Linked DNA regions of Homo sapiens: region 2 is linked to region 1. Evidence: promoter capture Hi-C in 16 types of primary human blood cells and fetal thymus (Javierre and others, 2016). All regions are on one chromosome and are shown on one strand. Each heading gives the region's core, a stretch centred on a gene start or on the middle of the fragment in contact. The rest is flanking DNA. Distances are from core to core; before and after follow the strand shown. Region 1 holds the start of CEACAM16-AS1 (CEACAM16, CEACAM19 and PVR antisense RNA 1). Region 2 overlaps PVR (PVR cell adhesion molecule).

Region 1 (5,370 bases), core at 1,174-3,673:
ACTGCAACCTCCGCCTCCCAGGTTCAAGCGATTCTCCTGCCTCAGCCTCCTGAGTAGCTGGAATTACAGGCATGTGCCACCAGGCCCAGCTAATTTTTATATTTTTAAAATAGAGACAGGGTTTCACCACGTTGGTCAGGTACCATGTTGGCCAACTCCTGACCTCAGGTACTCTATCTGCCTCGGCCTCCCAAAGTGCTGGAATTACAGGCATGAGCCACCATGCCCAGGCCAGGTTTTAATTTAATTTAATTTGTTATTATTATTACTGTTTAGAGACAGGGTCTCACTGTGTTGCCCAGGCTGGAGTACAGTGGTGCCATCTTGGCTTACTATAGCCTCGACCTCCTGGGCTCAAGCGATCCTCCCGCCTCAGCCTTCTGATGACTTAGGTGTTAACAGGATCCCTGTGGCTGCATGTGGGGGAAAGACAGGTCCTTGTGGAGGTGCAGCAAGGACCCAGGCAGGGAGTCCCATGAGGAGGTGACTGCATGGTCCGGGCCTTCAGTGATGGTGGCTGGACCAGAGTGGGAACTTTTTTTTTTTTTTGAGACAGAGTCTTGCACTGTCACCCAGGCTGGAGTGCAGTCGCATGATCTTGGCTCACTGCAGCCTCCACCTCCCGGATTCAAGCGATTCTCATGCCTCAGCCTCCTGAGTAGCTGGGATTACAGGCGCATGCCACCACACCCAGCTAAGTTTTGTATTTTTTGTAGAGACGGGTTTTCACCATGTTGCCCAGGCTGGTCTCGAACTCCTGGGCTCAAGTGATCTGCCTGCCTTGGCCTCTCAGAGTGCTGGGATTACAGGCATAAGCCACCTTGCCCAGCCACCATTTTTTTTTTTTTTTTTTGAGGTTGAGTCTCTCTGTGTCGCCCAGGCTGGAGTACAGTGGCGCAATCTCGGCTCACTGCAACCTCTGCCTCTGGGGTTCAATCGGTTCTCGTGACCTCAGGTGATCCACTTACCTCAGCCTCCCAGAGTGCTGGGAAATACAGGTGTAGGCCACCGCGCCCGGCCCTACATCTTTACTTCTTTTGGTCGTGGGGGCTTTTGGAGAGGTACAGGGAACCAGGAGACGGAGGACAGAGAGGACCCAGGGGACCGGGCCTGGCCTGTTTGAGCTGAGACCTGAAGAGCATGGGGAAGTGTTTGAAGGAGGTGAACAAAAGGCTTTATTAGAAAACCAGAAAGGAGGCTGGGCGCGGTGGTGCATACCTGTAGTCCAAGCATTTTGGGAGGCTGAGGCGGGAGGATCGCTTGAGCCCAGGAGTTTAAGACCAGCCTGGGCAATGAGTGAGACCCTATCGCTAAAAAAAAAATTTAAAAATTTACCCAGGTGTGGTGGCATGTGCCTGTAGTCTCAGCTACTCAGGAGACTGAGGTGGGAGGATTGCTTGAGCCCAGGAGGTTGAGGCTGCAGTGAGCTATGATGGCACCACTGCATTCCAGCCTGGGGCCAGAGCAAGACCCTGTCTTAAAAAAAAAAAAAAAAAAAGAAAAAGAAAAGAAAAGAAAGAAAAAGAAAAAAAAATACAAGCAGTGAGTGGTCAGGCTGTGGCTGTGGCACAGCACTTGGCTTTCTCCTGGGGGCACTGGGGAGCCATGGCAGATTCTGACCAGGGGTCAGGGTTGGGTTTCCAAGGACGCCTCTGGGTGTGGTGCGGGCAGGGAGACCAGCTGTGCAGCAAGACACCAGGTGGCCTGGGTTAGGAGGTGGGTCAAAGAGGGAGGGGTGAAGGTTACCAATCATAGATTTAGGAGGCAATTTTCTTGGAAGGAAAGGGTGGGGTGCATGCTGGCTTGCTGGCGCCACTATCAGCCACTGTCCCAAGGTTTTCTTGTGCGTAAACTCATGGAGCGTTCACCACCACCCACTAGGTATCCTCATTGCACAGCTGGGGAAACTGAGGCTGAGAGAGACACACTCGCTGGCCCCAGATCTCACACAGCAGGTTATAGGAGCCAGCATTCAAACTCCTGGAGTCTGACTCCAGAGCTTGGACATTTTCACGCCCCTGACTCCTTAAAGCTGGAGAAGCTGAGGCTCCCAGTTGGGGTGAAGTTCCAGGTTCAAGACCACACAGCCGGGAACTAGAAAGGAAGGATTGAACCCACACCTTACCATGGGACACGGCCCTGCCCATCCCCTCTCCTCCCAGCAGCGTGAGGGCTCGACCTCCGGGGAGTCCCCGTTCTGGGTTGGGCGCCACTCCTCCCTCCCTATCCGCTTCGCGCCCGGAGCTCTCTCCGGACTTTAACCCTGGGCCGCCACTGGTGGCGACGCTGCCGATAAGGGGAGGTGGTTGGTGCAGAGGCCAGCAGGGCAAAATTCCCCTACTCCCGGTGCCAGGGGAGTTACCCAGGTCAGGGGCGGGGGCGGGGGAGGGCAGGGGCAGAGGAGCGGGCGGAGGGGGAGGTGGAGGCATCTGCAGCTGGACAGAGAAGTGGTGCTTTGTTTCTCTGTGCCTCAGTTTCCCTCTTGGTAAAATAGGCATGGTTCCTCCTATGGATGTAAGAAGGACCTAGGAACCTTTGCAAGGGCAGAGGAGTCCGCCCCTCTGGTCTGACTGGGAGACAAGGTGTTCCCCAATCTGATGGTGGGGACAAGGTGGCCCAACACAGTGGGAAAAATAAGGAAACTAAGGAGCTCTCACCAAATCCCATGAGGGAGACAGGACTGTCCAAATCCAATGAAGAAGATAAGAAGCTCCAGTCCTGTGCAGCAAGAACGAGTGTCCAGTCTATATTTCCAGTCTGCCAGGGGAGGTAAGGAGCAACATTCTGATGTGTAAGACAATGTATTTATTTTTGTGAGTCAGAGTCTCGCTCTGTCGCCCAGGCTGGAGTGCAGTGGTGTGATCTTGGCTCACTGCAACCTGTGCCTCCTGGGTTCAAGCGATTCTCCTGCCTCAGCCTCCTGAGTAGCTGGGATTACAGACGCACACCACCACGCCTGGCTAATTTGTTATTTTTAGTAGAGACCGGGTTTCACCGTGTTGGCCAGGTTTGTCTTGAATTTCTGACCTCAGGTGATCCTCCTGCCTCGGCCTCCCAAAGTGCTTGGATTACAGGCGGGAGCCACTGCACCTGGCCAGGAGTGATACTTTGATGTGTGAGACAATGCAGTTCTAATTTGATGGGGGAGATGGGTAGTCCTAGTCTGATGGGGGTGTTGAAGGGCTCCCATGCCTTCTGGGAGAGCTGATGAGCTTCCAAATGAATGATAGAAATGGGGAGCCCCTCAAACTGGTGGGGAGACAAAGAGCCTGCTAGTCTGATGAGGGAGGTAAGAATCTTCCTGTCTGAAGTGGGAGCCAGGGTGCTCCCGTCTGAGATTCCAAGGTGAGGAAAGAGACGAAGAACATACTCACTGCAGCTCAGCCAGCTCCTTCCTGAGCCTGGGAGTCAAATGGCCCCAGGATGCCTGGCCAGGGAGCCAGGACCAAAAGACAGAGACGATTTGCTCTCCTGACCCAGGGGCAGTTCTGCCCAGCTCTGGGCCTGATCTACTTTTGGCAAAAAAAGACCTGGCTGGTGGTGTACGGGCACCACCTAGCGGTTGCCATGGGCACGCCTTCCATCCGGAGCTTGGGGAGAGCAGCTCCTTGGAAGACCAGAGAAGGGCTCCTTGGACTCTCTCCCTGGGACCTGGGTCCAAGTACCAAACTACCCCTGAAACTGGATTCTGTGCATCATTCCATTCACCCTGCATGTGGCAGCTGGGGGAGTCTCTTGGAAGTACAAGCCTACCTCTGTCTGTCCCTTGCTCACAACTCTGCAGTGGCTCCCTGGTGCCCTGGGAGGAAGTCCACACCCGGCCACAAGGCTGGCTTCTTCTGAACAACCCTATGCTTCAGTTGAACAATAAGTAGTTTCTCAAAGGTGTCATATGCAAAACTTACCTTCAGGCCTTCGCACAGGCTGTTCCCTCTGCCAGGAACACCCTTCCCTGCCTCTTCCCCAGCATCTCTCCTACTCCTCCTTCAGGTCTTGGAGTAGATGTCTCCGCCCTCGTGAGCCCCCTGGTCAGGGTCATGGTCTGGTGGGGCTGTCGTGGTCACTGCTGTGTTCCCCTGGGGCCTGACACTGACAATGCACTCCAGGGAATGTTTATGGAATGAATGAGTGAATGAATGAATGAATGAATGAATGCCAAGCTAAAGAGTTTGCCAGGGCAGCTGTAGGAGAGTTTAATCAGGGCCAGGACACGATCGGATTTAGAAGCCCCTAGGCTCCCCCCAGCTTTTTTTTTTTTTGAGAGAGAGGGATGGAATCTGACTTCGTCGCCAGTGCAGTGGCGTGATCTTGGCTCACTGCAATCTCTACCTCCCAAGTTCAGGCAATTCTCGTGCCTCAGCCTGCCAGGTAGCTAGGATTATGGGTGCACGCCACCACGCCTGGCTAATTTTTGTATTTTAATAGAGACAGGGTTTCACCATGTTGGCCAGGCTGGTCTTGAACTCCTGACCTCAGATGATCCGCCCGCCTCGGCCTCCCAGAGTGCTGGGAATACAGGCATGAGCCACTGCGCCTTGCTGGAGCCCCTAGGTTTCCTCTCAACCCTAGGCTTTTGCACATACTCTTCCCTCTCCCTGCACTATTTACACCTAGTAACTCCCACTCATCCTCTAGGTATCAGATGAGCTGTCCCTTCCTCCAGGAAGCCCTCCTTGACCCCAGGCTGGGTCAGGCATGCGCTCTGAGCTCCTGCAGCCTCCTGGGCTCCTCCATCCCAGGCTGTGAACACTGCTGGGCTATTATTACCTGGGGACAAGTCTGCCTTCCCACTGGATCTGGGAGGGCAGGCTGGGTTCTGTTCACCCTCTCTGCCTTCTCCTCTGAGCTAACAACATCTGCTAGGACCTGGGTTCAAATCCAGATGCCCCTATCTTTGGAGCTCCTTAGGTGAGTGTGGGCCTCTCTTGGAGCCCCTGTTTTCTCGTGTGAAATGTGGGGAGAATGAGAAGCGTGCATGGAAAACCTCCCAGGGCTGTGGTGGGTGCAGTGAAGAGACGAGATCCTGAAGTCCCGAGCTGACCATGAGCCGGGTGACTACGGGTGACCCACTTCCCCTTTTGGGGTTCATCTGGCTGGATGAACGGTAGCAGCAGCCCCTTCCTGCCGGGACATTCTGGGAGGCCCGCTCGGGGCTTCCCGAGGTGGGAGGGTCAGGGACAGGCTGAGGGAAGAGGTGTCTGTTGGGTTAGGGGAAAACCAGTCTTCCCCATCATGAAACGGATGATGGGGGGGAAACAAACAAAGCTGGCTCCACCACGGCGTGAGGGGAAGTTGGGGGAGAGGATGAGGGGGCCCCATGAGGTGGGTGAAAACCACAGTCCACAACTTGTCGCCAACTTCCCGCCTGGA
Region 2 (5,370 bases), core at 2,871-5,370, 62 kb after region 1:
ACATATACATATAAAATATATGTAAAATGTATGTGTATGAATATGTATATATAAATGTATATATGTGTATATATATTCAAAGTAACTAAAATTAAATGCATTAAAAAATGCAGTTCCTCAAACTAGCCACCTTCAAGTGCTCACTAGCCTCAAGTGATCAGTGGCTACTCCATTGGACAGCACAGATGGAGAACGTTTTCATCATCATCTCAGAAACTTCTATTGGGGAGTGAGAGCTGACCTAGGGATCTGAGGCAGGCGGTGCCAGGCATTTCTACCCAGTGAGGTCCATCAGGAAGAGACAGCTAGGTCGGGGTGTGGTGTATCCATAGCACTTTGTGTGTGTCTGAGTGTTCCGGACACACGTCTTCAGCTTGTTGGGGGTGATGGTATCTTCTAGAGGCCCCAGGTTGAGGCAAATCAGGAATCTTGACGTTGAACTGCCTTGAATGATGGAGTGGCCCAGCTATACACTGAATGGCTGTAGAGTCCAGGGCAGCTCTGCTGTGAGCTGGTGAGTCTGGCTGAAAACTTGGTTCTACCACCATATGGCTGGGGTATTTTGTGGCACACGACTTCACCTCTCTGGGCCTCAGCCTCCTCCCCTGGAGAATGGGGATAAGCATCACCACCTCACAGGGATGTTGGGAGAACTGTATGCAAGAGGCCCAGCCAACAAGCAACAAATGCCTGTCATTGTTATTATTATTATTGCTGTTGACCTTGTCTTTGGATTTGCCCCACCTCCCACATTGCCCCCACCCCTCGTGACCCTGCTCAAGAGAAGTGTATTTTCCCTGGAGGGATTTCCAATCCTCCACATCCTCAATGTTCCTTAATGCCTGGAAGATTTCATGCTGGGTTCGTGGGGTCAGAGTACCCTCAGAATCCACCTGACAGATTCTCACTCTGTCGCCCAAGCTGGAGTGCAGTGGCACGATCTCAGCTCACTGCAACCTCCACCTCCCAGGTTCAAGCGATTCTCTTGCCTCAGCCTCCCGAGTAGCTGGGACTATAGGCGCACGCCACCACGCCCGGCTTATTTTTGTATTTCTAGCAGAGACGAGGTTTCACCATGTTGGCCAGGCTGGTCTCGAACTCCTGATCTCAGGTGATCCAATCCACCTCGGCCTCCCAAAGTGTTGGGATTACAGGCGTGAGCCACTGTGCCCGGCCCTTCAATCCTTCCTGCAGTTTTGTAGTTTCCTTGGTCTGTCTCCGGGAGAGAAGTTGTTGCAAACCCAGCAGTTATTTCCAGGCATGGATTAAGCAAAGCCAGCTATTCTGGATTTTCCGGTGGCTGGATTCTACTCTCTCTGTCTCCTTCCCTGCCTCCCTCCATTCTTCCCTCCCTCCCTCTCTCTTTCTTCCTCTCCCTTTCAAACAATCACTTCGATTCCTTTTGCATTATTAAAAGAAGAGTCAAGGTTTATTGCAGAACTTGTAGACAGTACTTAGAATAAAATTCAAACATGTTCCAACCACCCAGACAGAGGTAGTCACTGCTGGTAACAGAGGTCTAGGAGTCCATCCTGTCCTGCAGCCTTCATCTGGGCCTCTCCCCAGCCCCAGAGGGCAGGTCCTGTTTGGTCCAGCCTTCCAGGCGGTCCCATTCTTTTGGCCAGGGATTGGTTGAGCGGTGGGCGGCGCTGGTGAATGAGACCGGAAAAGACGCTGCTGGGTGAGGTTTCTGCTGCTGGATGCGGTTTCTCGTTCCTACAAAGGCTCACCCAGGTAGGGATGGGCAGCTTCTCTGGGTCTGAGTCTGGATGTGATGCCTGGAATGCAGCAGCCATCTTGGCACCAGAGGGTGATGCCAATATGTGGAGGAAAGCAGAACAAACAGCAGAGCAGCAGAACTGGGCCTGCATGCTGTGCCCGGAGTAGAGCCAGGCAATCCAGTTTTTTTTTTTTTTTTTTTTTTTTTGGAGACAGAGTCTCACTCTTGTCACCCAGGCTGGAGTGCAGTAACTCGATCATGGTTTACTCCAGCCTCCACTTCCCGGGTTCAAGGGATTCTCCCACCTCAGCCTTCTGAGTAGCTGGGATTACAAGCATGCACCACCACACCTGGCTAATTTTTTTTGTAGAGACACGGTTTCACTATGGTCTGGTCTTGAACTCCTTACCTCAAGTGATCCACCCGCTGCAGCCTCCCAAAGTGCTGGGATTACAGGCGTGAGCCACTGCGCCCAGCCCGTAATTTTTTGTAAAAAGTTAGATTTCAGTAGCACAGACATTTTCACCCCAAGCAATCTGCAACCCAGAGGCTTCTGGGACCTCACAGCTCCTCAAGGTGAGATCGTATCAACCTGAAAAGATTCCCGACTCCCGTGCAGGAGCAATGCAGAGGGAGGGTGTGGAGTGTTTTAGCCTCCTTATGATCTCCATCATACCCTGCCCCCCGCCAAGTCTCTGATAAGGATAGTTGCGGTTTTCTTAACCTTACTATAAGTTTATACAACACCTATACCAAAATTCTGGGCCCACTCTCCATTCCTGGCTCTGTGGACTCCAAGGATGCCCCCTCCCTCCAGAAAAAGGTCATCGCCTACGTCGCTGGTGGGAACAGAACTCAGCACAACTTCTGTGAGGGTTCATTTGTCAATATCTATCACAATGACAAGAAACATACTCTTTGGCCCAGCAATTCCACCTCCAGGAGTGTGTCCTACACTCAGGTGTTAACATGAGCTAAATGACAGTGTGCATTGGCCAGGCACGGTGGCTTATGCCTATAAATCCCAGTACTTTAGGAGGCCAAGGCGGGAGGATTGTTTGGGCCCAGGAATTTGAGACCAGCCTGGGCAAGATGGCAAGATTCCTTTCTCTAAAATAAAAAAAAAAAAAAGTAAAATAAATGACAGTGTGTAAAGTTATTCACTACAACATTGTAATAGTGAAAGGCTGGAAAGGATACAAATGCCTGTCCTTAGAGGCCTCGTTAAAAAAGCCCTGTACAGCCCTCCCATGGAATATGAGGTGGGTGTAGAACAACTCAGGAGGCATTCTCTGAATTACCAGAAACTGAGCAAAAAAAGTAAGGTTCAGGGTGGGCGCGGTGGCTCACATCTGTAATCCTAGCGCTTTGGGAGGCCAAGGCAGGAGGAGCACTTGAGCCCAGGAGTTCCAGCCCAGCCTAGGCAACATAGCGAGATGCCTATCTCTACAAAAGTTAAAAAGAGATTTAGCCAGGTGGGGTGGCGCCCACCTATAGTCCCAGCTACTCGGGAGGCTGAGATGGAAGGATAGCCCGAGCCCAGCAGGTCGAGGCTGCAATGAGCCATGATCACGCCACTGCACTCCAGCCTGGGCAACAAAGTGAGACTCTTATTTCTAAAATAAATAAATAAATAAACAAATAAATAAATAAATAAAGTGCACTATTCAATGGTTTTTTGGTATAATTAATTTTCAAAAATGGTGGTTAAAAAGAGATAACAGACAATTTGCCATTTTAGCTATTTTTGAGTGTATGATTCAGTGGCATTCATTACATTCACAGTGTTGTGTAAAACTGGATATCCATGTGCAGAAGAATGGAGCTGGACCATTACACTCCAAACACAAATTAGAATGGATCCCTCATGTCTTTTTATCTTCTAATTTTGGGACGTTTATGTACTATCTAATTAAAAAAATTAGCTTAGCATGGTGAGGGGCAGCTGTGGTCACAGCTACTTGGTAGGCTGAGGTGGGAGGATTGCTTGAGCCCCGGAGTTAGAGGCTGCAATGAGCTATGATCGTGCCATTGCACTCCAGCCTGGGTGACAGGAGACACCGTCCCTTAAACATTTTTTTTGGAGAGGAAAAAAAAAAAGACAAGCTGTTCCTAAGGTGCCTGGGAATCCCAGCCCTTATGGCCCTCTTCATTTAGCGTCTTGCTTCCATGCCTCTGGTTCCATCCCACGTGGTGACAGTACACATGAAACCTGTCTGCTCCTTGATTTCCACAAAAGACCCCATTGCACACAGCCGCTGGAGGTACAATAAATAAGCTTTAATGAGATTCTGGGTGCTGGAGACAGACAAGGAGCTTACGTGCCACCAAAGCAACCAATGTTCCTTTATCTCCCCAACTCTGTGGGGTCCCACTGGCCTCCTCACCCTTGAGCCCTTTGCCCCTGCCATCCTGCTGGTTCCTATCTCTTCCCCACACTTCTCTGTTCCCGGCTCTTCCATCTCTGTCCAGAGCAAATCCTCTGTCCTGCTTATTTTCTCTTGCAGAGCAGCTCAAGCTTTGCATTCCCATTTAGCATCTTGGCCCAAGGTCTTCTCTCCCTCAACGTATTTTCCCAAACAGTTTTCTTTATAAGAGGAATTCTGCTGTCTGCCCTCAAGATCATAGACCTTTTTAACTTGTCAGTTGCACTGAGCAGCTGGGCCTCCTGGGTCTTGGGTCGCATCCATCTTGGTCCTATAGGAGCGTGTCCTGAGCAACTGCAGCGCTGCCTCCCCCTGCATCCCTTCCCCCTTGTGTTGGAAATTGCATTTGCTTCTTTTGTGGGTTATTTCCTGCCAGTCCCAGCTTGCTGGCTGCAGATGCTGGCAGAAAGTGGCTGCAGATGCTGGCAGAAAGTGGCTGCAGCTGACAACCTTCTTCAAGTTCACATCTAGTAGTTTTCTCTGCTCCTTGGACACCCCCCAGGCAGCTGCTTGCGGCCTGAATTGCAGCCTCTGGTGACCAGGGTCAGTGGCTGTTTCTTGTAACCACAGAGATCTGACGGATACAGAGATTTAGAAGCTCAAGGCCAGAGGCCAAATTTTTACCAAAATTCTCTGGTGGCCCACACCCTTCTGTGTGGTCTGCTATGCAGTAAAGGCTTAACCTTGCCCAAAGAAAGATCGGGCCCTTTATCCTCAGCTCCTGGGCATTCATCTCTAAGCCCTTGGAATATCCTGCCTGGTAGCTGATCTTGGAGTCTTGGGCCACTCTGGGTGGTTCATGCTAATGATGTGATTTATGGTGGGGGTCTTGGGCCACACGGTATTGGCTTGATGTATGAGGTCAGCCGTGTGGATGGTGAGCTGCTTAATTCAGCACTTTGGGAGGCCAAGGCAGAAGTATCACTTGGAGCCAAGAGTTCAAGACCAGCCTGGGCAACACAGGGAAACCTCGACTTTACAAATAATAAAAAGATTAGCCAGACGTGGTGGCACATACCTGTAGTCATAGCTACTCAGGAGGCTGAGGTGGGAGGATGACTTGGCGTTGAGAAGTCAAGGCTGCAATGAACTGTGATCTCACCACTGTACTCTAGTCTGCCAACAGAGCCAGACCCTGTCTCAAGACAAACAAAAAACTCTGGACACAAAGATCTCGAGTGAGCTGCTCTGGTTGGCAGTATTGGCAGTACTTCTTGCATGTTG

What was found. The method cuts DNA at HindIII sites, captures the fragments that hold promoters and counts their contacts. A CHiCAGO score of 5 or more calls a contact.
Region 2: a fragment that was not itself captured here is called in contact with the fragment with the promoter of CEACAM16-AS1 in region 1 in 1 of 17 cell types (M0 macrophages); the score reaches 5.9 in M0 macrophages.

What each region holds. Positions count from the first base shown.
Region 1 is chr19:44,722,236-44,727,605 of GRCh38, reverse strand. CEACAM16-AS1 (CEACAM16, CEACAM19 and PVR antisense RNA 1) reads left to right here and starts at 2,423. Exons shown (of 2, transcript NR_186815.1): 1 at 2,423-2,769. RefSeq lists enhancers at 4,785-4,844, 4,915-5,024, 5,155-5,304. The HindIII fragment of the contact is 7,565 bases long and covers 1-5,370 here.
Region 2 is chr19:44,662,193-44,667,562 of GRCh38, reverse strand. PVR (PVR cell adhesion molecule) reads right to left here. Exons shown (of 8, transcript NM_006505.5): 8 at 1,401-5,370. It also overlaps a transcript of CEACAM19 not described here. Among named protein-coding and RNA genes, the nearest start is that of CEACAM19, 6.6 kb to the left of the region's middle. The HindIII fragment of the contact is 240 bases long and covers 4,001-4,240 here.